Linked DNA regions of Homo sapiens: region 1 is linked to region 2. The links are contacts of gene promoters, found by promoter capture Hi-C in human tissues and cell types (Jung and others, 2019). All regions are on one chromosome and are shown on one strand. The core of a region is centred on a gene start or on the middle of the fragment in contact, and the rest is flanking DNA. Distances in the headings are between cores, read along the strand shown. Region 1 holds the start of CCDC134 (coiled-coil domain containing 134). Region 2 holds the start of LOC101927344 (a long non-coding RNA gene).

Region 1 (3,543 bases), core at 455-2,954, 640 kb before region 2:
CTGCAGTCCAGAGGTGTGTGTGAGGGTAGTTTGCTTCCTCTGCACCCCTCTGGCTGCCTCCCTGGCTCTCTTCCTTGCCCCTTCCGTGCAATAGTTCCCTGTTGAATAGCAACTACCTAGCCCAGGTGTTCAGGACCCAATTTCAGAATCCATCCCACTATTCTCAGGAGCACTTCTGTTCTTGCCTGACCATTCTTGACTGTTTTGGGCTCTGGAAGTGTGATGCCCCCATGGTTGGCCCCACTTCTCTGCTGTTTTCCTCTCATGTTTTGCTGCCAGCTGCCTGGGAGGGGTGGCTGTATCCCTGTCCCACATCAGAAACTGATCCTCAGGACTTGAAGGCCCAGAAGTGGAGAGAGAATGAGACCTGGAGACAAAGGGCATAATTGTTGGGGAAATGGATGACAGCTGAAGCTATTCATATGGAGCCATATACTCTATTGTTGAAATAGAATAAGGAAATAAAATGATACACTCACATACCTGCGCGAGCTCTCCAAAAACACTGTACTACCTTGTCTACCAGGAGCTGGTTTCTCAGCCAGTTGGATAAGGGATTGTTTCAGCAAGGAGACTGATGGCCTCCTCAGGGAAGGAGGGACGGGACAGGATTTGTTCTTGTAACAGCATTCAAGGAGTCAGCTGGGTGCCTCAGCTGTACTCAGAGAACACCAGTCAGGCCATCCTGGGGCTGGCAGGGCAGAGAAAGGCCTAGGGGTTGGGGCTGCTGCGATTCAACAGCTCCCAGAGGCACTTGACCTGCTCCCTCGCCTCACGTGGAGGTGGATAGAGGTAAACTTTCCAGGCAAGGAGGGTCAAATTCTCAGCTTTCCTATCAGAACGAAACTGTCCCAGCCTCAGCCCTTGTCTGGCTAAAGTAGGTCACCTCTGTCCCTTCCCGTACAGCCGTCATCAGAACTGGTGTTTATGCACCCTCGTGGGTAGATCCTGGGAATGCATGTCCAGCTTGGTCCCCGGCATGAGGTCTGCGCTCGACAGTGCCTGCCCTGCGCCTGTTCTGGGGAGCTCAGCCCAGACCGGGCCTCCAGCTCCCTTCCCGCCCGGCAGGGGCCCCGGGCCCGGAGATGGCCACGCCACGCTGCCTTCTCGGGTCTGACTGTCCTGATCCTGCGCAAAAGTGGGGCTGCACTCGGCCTAACGAACGGACGAGGAAGCCCCCGCCGCACTTGGCTTATTAGTTGGTGGACCGGAGGGGCAAGGAGGGGATGCCCGAATCCTGCACTGAGTCTCTGAGGTCCTTAAAGAAGAACAAAAGTGCTAGTCACCGCCCACTAAACTCACGTTGCGATCTAAAGTTTAAAAACTCGGCCACAGACGACGACACAGTTTCAGGGAGGGCGCGCAGAAGGTCGCCCGGCCGACAGGAGCTGGGACCCCAGTTTGCTGATTCACGCCTTAAATTGGGCACAGACCCCACCCACAGATTTAACTTCCTCCAACACAAGCTAAATCCAGGGCCACGTACCCAGGGCCCGCAGGAGGGACAGGACGAGGATGGTGCCCACAGCGCGCTGGAGGCACGCCAGAGCCTGGAGGGGCAGGCAGGGGCGGTGGAGCGGGGCCGGAAGTGAGGCTAGCGGAGCCCCGCAGTGGCGGCTCGCGCTCATTGGCCGGGAGCAGCGCGGTGGGCGGGACGGAGCTCGGCGGTCTGCGCTCGGTTGCTAGCCGTTTGCTCCCGCTTTCAGTTGCTTTGCTGTTAGCCTGTTGGACCTTCGAGCCTAGCTGCTCGCACAGGACTCGGCCACCTGCCCTTCCTGCACCGACTGGCCAGGTAGGTGGCTGTAGGGGCCGCGGGCTGCAGGTTCCCGGGAAGGATAATGAGAGAACCGAGGGCCTCGAACCGGCTGCAGGTGGTGGGGAGGGAGTTTCGTGGACCTGGACGCCTCTGTTCCTTGAGAAGGCTCGCTCCCTCCTCCGGGAGCTCCGAAGGCTCGGGGTCAACCACCTGGGCCCCCGACCCCGGTAGCTGGCTCAAGGCCCGCCACTACCTGGTACCTCTGCAGGAGTTCAGAGCCTCATGCTGAGCCAGGAGGAGCTCCGGGTGACGCATACGGCAGGATCGGGATTGAGAGGCTGAAAAAGTGAGTTTAACAGTAGAGAAAGCAGGACCTGTCCCGCAGGCTGCTGTTCTGGCTTTTCTTTCCCACTACCTGCTTCAGTCATTGCCAGCTGTCTGGTATTCTCCTTGGCCCCTAAAGTTTTGCCCTAGCCTGGTTCTGGTTCCCTTGAGTTTGGAGCAGGAGGTGGAATGTGGAGGGTCCTGGGTGAACTTGGACTATTCCTTCTCTAGGTTTCACTTATCTCGTCTGCTTGGGGGTAGGGGGTTCTCCGGATGATCTCTGCAGCCCCTCACTGTCTGTAACTGAGCATCTCTCCCCTGGGGCAGGTGTCCTGGTAGTTCAGTAGCCAGCTCTGATCTCAGGTAGCCTGTGCTCATTTACAAAGAGTCAGAAGACAGAGCACTGGACTTAGAGCCAAACAGACACTTGGTTCAGCCTGGGAATAGCTGTGTGACTTTGGGCAGTCACCTCATTTTTCTGTGCCTTGATTTCACATTGGTAACATTGGGGAGTTGTAATCTGAGTGTGAGACCTCTCCTGACCACTTTATGTAATCTTGTACCTGACCGACACCCTCTCATCCCTCTGTGCTTATTTTACAAGTTTATTGATCAACTCTTATCCCTACTAGAGACAAGTACCATGAGTGCAGAGATTTTTGCTTATTTATTGCTGTATTCCCGCCTCTAGAACAGTGCCTAGAGTGTGGTAGGTACTGTCAACCTAAATAGCAGAGTGAGAGACTCTAAAAAAATGATGTTTACTTGGGAATAGACATTGTAGTGACAATATGTGTGCCATAGTAACCTGTGTACGTATTTGGGGAGGTAAAGGAAGACAAAGGTTTTGAAAAGGAAAAATGAGGATTACATGATTATTTTGAGATAGTTATCCTTGGCTACAAGGATGAATAGCAAGAGTGGTGCTAGTCTGAGGTTGGACAGGCAGTTGCAGGGCAGATGTCCTCACAGAAAGATTTTTCTGTGTAAGTTTGCAGTGGCCTTTGTGCAGGGTTGTGGTTTTTGCATTTTTTGTGATCTTGTTATCAGTCATTTGTGCATAAGAACCCTCTTTTCACAACCTTCCTCGGTTTTATTTGTCAGAGTTGTTGTTCTTGTTTTTTCCCATTGGAGAATCATGCTTTAAATTTGTCAGAGTTTTTAACACAAACGACTCTGTTTTGATTCTAACAACTTTCATATTTCCCCCTTTTGGTCAAGATCTTTCTCCAAAAACTTTACTGATCAGTCATCCTGTAGTTAGGTCCCTCAGTGCTGGGACGGACCTATCTTGGGTTGTTGGTCTCTTGCCATGTTGGAGACTAGGAGTCTCCAGTTGGAGACTGGTGACTAGGAGTCAGTGTCAAAACCCTTGTAGTGGTTGGGAGCAGGGGCTCACGTCTGTAATCCCAGTACTTTGGGAGGTCAAGGAGGGAGTATCACTTGAGTCCAGAAGTTCAAGA
Region 2 (3,331 bases), core at 832-3,331:
AGTTCAGAGAACACAAGCCACTTGCCCAAGGCCACACAGCGAAGACGCAGTGGAACAAGGGCTCCAGCTCCCGGGACCTGGCTTTAACCACTGCGCTCTCCTGCAATTCACCTGGTCCTTTAATCAGGGCAGATATTATACGCCTCAGCTGACATATTTAGTGAGGGAGAAAAACAGTGACTCACCTGCTTGAGGTCACAGAGGGGACCCGGGCTTTTCTACTGGACACATACCATGGTCCCCCTGCTATGCTCAGTTTCTGGGAGGCAGCAAGGAGCTAGTGCCAACTCCCCAACCCCGCCACACCAAAAGGAATCTTCAAGATCTGGAAGAAACAAAAAACAAAGGTGGCATGATTTTTTCTTTTTGTCTTTTTTTTTTTTTTTTTCTGAGATGGAGTCTCGCTCCGTCACCCAGGCTGGAGTGCAGTGGTGCGATCTTGGCTCACTGCAACCTCCTCCTCCCAGGTTCAAGTGATTCTCCTGTCTCAGCCTCCCAAGCAGCTGGGATTAAAGGCACCCACCACCACACCCGGCTATGTTTGTATTTTTTAGTAGAGACGGGGTTTTACCATGTTGGCCAGGCTGGTCTCGAACTCCTGGCCTCAAGTGATCTGCCCGCCTCGGTCTCCCAAAGTGCTGGGATTACAGGTGTGACCTACCATACCCGGCCACAATTTTCAACATTTATTCCACGTCCACCATGTGCCAAGGTTCTGGGAGGCTCGGGCCCTTGACACAACCATGTCCCTGAAAGAGACGAGCACAGAACCAGGAGGCCCTCAGACAACAGACGCCAGAGCCACCAAGTCCCCCACTAACGGTGCCACCCACTTCCCCTCCTGGCCACGCAGGACGGCCCCAGGGTTGGCCTGTGCTGATGGTGCCACCTGGTGGTAGACATGGGAACGCCCTCACCTGAGATTTCCTCTCCGTGACCCTTCTTCCCCCTCTAGGGGTCCTGGGCTGCCCTGAGGCCACCGCCTAGCAAGATCAAGATAGGGCTTGAGCGGCAGTGGGATAGGGCAGTGGGGGTTCCGGGGGGGTCCGGTGCAGGCAGAACCAAGAGTGTGCCGGCGGAGGGCTGTCGGTACAGGGTGCAGGGCGTGGCGGCTGCAGGACCTCAGCTTGCCTCTTTAAATCCCTTCCTGGGCACCGCGGTGGCCCGGCCCTTTCCCCTCGTGCTGTTTCTGCTGGAAACGCCGCACAGTCTCCTCGGGGGCAGCCGCCAGCGGAAACGGTTATTGGCCGCCAGGCAAGCCAGTCCCATCCTTCCCAGCAACTGGGACTTTCCGGGCAGGGCTCCCCAGCGCGGGTTCAGCTAATTAAGGAAGCAATTAGCCTCCCCTGAGGCTATTCATGCTTCCTCACCCACAGTTCTCAGGTTCTGTGAGACCAGAGCCTCAGTCTCCCGTGAGCAGAGGGTGTGTGTGTGGCTGCCACTATTCTGCAGACACGCTGGCTCCACCCCAGAGAGTTGCAGGGCCAGGAAATCTGCATTTAAACAGACCCTGGCTCTCACACTTCGGAAACTGCCCGAAGCACCTCTCAAATATGGGACAGGTTTGATACTCCCTCCCCCTCTCCGTTCCCCCGCTTCTCCCTTCTTCGCCCTCCTTCCCACTTCCTCCCTCCTCCCCGCCCCTTCTGCCCCCCACCTGCCCTCCCTCCCTCCCTTCCATCCTTCCTCCTCCTCCCGGCAACCTTTCTCCCTTCCCCACTCCCTCCCCTCTCCCTCCTCCTTGTAGGGACAGCGCCGCGTCCTGGGAAGGGCAGGGGCTCTGGCGTGAGCTCAGTTTGCATCCCAGCCTTGTCTCCTCAGGCGTTGAAGTGGGGGGCAGTTTCTGCATCCACAAAATGGGGATGAAATACCCACTTTGTCAGGGTTTAGTGAAGAACAATGGAAGTAAACGAAGTGAGAGCACTCTGCAAACAGTGAGATGTTGATAGAAAAGTAGTTTTAGGCCAGGCGAGGTGGCTCACGCCTGTAATCCCAGCACTTTGGGAGGCTGTGGCGGGTGGATCACCTGAGGTCAGGAGTTTGAGACCAGCCTGACCAACATGGAGAAACACCGTCTCCACTAAAAATACAAAATTAGCCGGGCATGGTGGCGCACGCCTGTAATCCTAGCTACTCGGGAGGCTGAGGCAGGAGAATCGCTTGAACCCGGGAGGTGGAGGTTGCAGTGAGCCGAGATTGCGCCATTGCACTCCAGACTGGGCAGCAAGAGCAAAACTCTGTCTCACAAAAAAAAAAAAAAAAAAAAAGAAGCTTCCAGGAGTAGACAGGAGGGCTCGCAGGAGGGACTGGGGTGTTCCTTCCAGGCTGAGAGGCTGAGGCTGGAGAGAGACGCAGGGGAAGTGGAATGAGAAGGCCTCCCTCCTCCCCTAGGCCTCCTCTGATGAAAACTACCTTCTCTCTCCAGCATCCACAGTCAGATGCATAAAACCATTTATTTTTTCTGTTCAGAAATTACTGGTATTGCAACTAGTATTGATTTTTACTGTTTTCATTTCACATGTACAGATTTTCAGCTGCATTCAGAGTTCAGCAGCTTTCGGGCGGTTCCTGGAAGCCCGACGTCATTTATAATCCGGTTTCTGAGTGGGAACGGCTTTCTCTGGGAGACAGCTCCTTGGGAAGTTAGAGACTTCCTGCACTTATTGGACTCGAACATCCATTCTGTACAAAATGCCCCGCAACACTGAGGAGATGCTGTTTTGTTTTTGTTTGTTTGTTTGTTTTTTCGAGACGGAGTTTTACTCCTGTTGCCCAGACTGGAGTGCAATGGTGCGATCTTGGCTCACTGCAACCTCCGCCTCCCGGGTTCAAGTGATTCTCCTGCCTCAGCCTTCTGAGTAGCTGGGACTACAGGCAAGATGCTGTTTTAGGACCAGAAATCTCCCAGGGGTGTGCAGATCAACAGTAATCCCAGTCTGCCCTCCATCGTCGGAATAGAATCAGAGGGAGGGAAAATCCGCCTTTGGATCTCTGGACCATGATCTTTCCAGCAGGTCACAGGTGACCAAAGGCTTCACTTGCAGAAGCCCCCTCCCCAGGAAACTCCCCTGGGGCAAAACGAAAGTGTTTTGGGCGTTTTTGTCTGCCTGGCAGGGAGCCTGTGCCTGAGTCACTGTTTCTCTTGAGCTTCCCTTTTCTTTTCTTTCCTCCCGGTGTCTGCTGATTTTGTGTCAAACAAGGAGCATGGGGCCAGGCCATCTCTGAGCTGCCCGTGGGACGGGGACTTGGGCACTTGCCAGGAGCGGCTGGCCTAGGAGTGGGCGGGAGGCCCTTGGTCACCCACCCCAGGGCCTGGCTTCAGGTGGCCACA

The links. The method cuts DNA at HindIII sites, captures the fragments that hold promoters and counts their contacts. A contact is called where the count stands out against the background at its distance.
Region 1: the fragment with the promoter of CCDC134 here is called in contact with a fragment that was not itself captured in region 2 in 1 of the 25 tissues and cell types used here (spleen).

What each region holds. Positions count from the first base shown.
Region 1 is chr22:41,798,975-41,802,517 of GRCh38, forward strand. It overlaps CCDC134 (coiled-coil domain containing 134), which reads left to right and starts at 1,705. Exons shown (of 7, transcript NM_024821.5): 1 at 1,705-1,792. It overlaps MEI1 (meiotic double-stranded break formation protein 1), which reads left to right. Exons shown (of 31, transcript NM_152513.4): 31 at 280-480. The coding sequence ends at 325. RefSeq lists enhancers at 526-1,512, 1,288-1,367, 1,438-1,517 and silencers at 988-1,077, 1,668-1,727. The HindIII fragment of the contact is 18,239 bases long and covers 1-3,543 here.
Region 2 is chr22:42,436,771-42,440,101 of GRCh38, forward strand. LOC101927344 (a long non-coding RNA gene) reads left to right here and starts at 1,397. Exons shown (of 6, transcript NR_188414.1): 1 at 1,397-1,562. It also overlaps a transcript of NFAM1 not described here. RefSeq lists enhancers at 592-691, 1,432-1,481, 1,445-1,946. The HindIII fragment of the contact is 3,608 bases long and covers 278-3,331 here.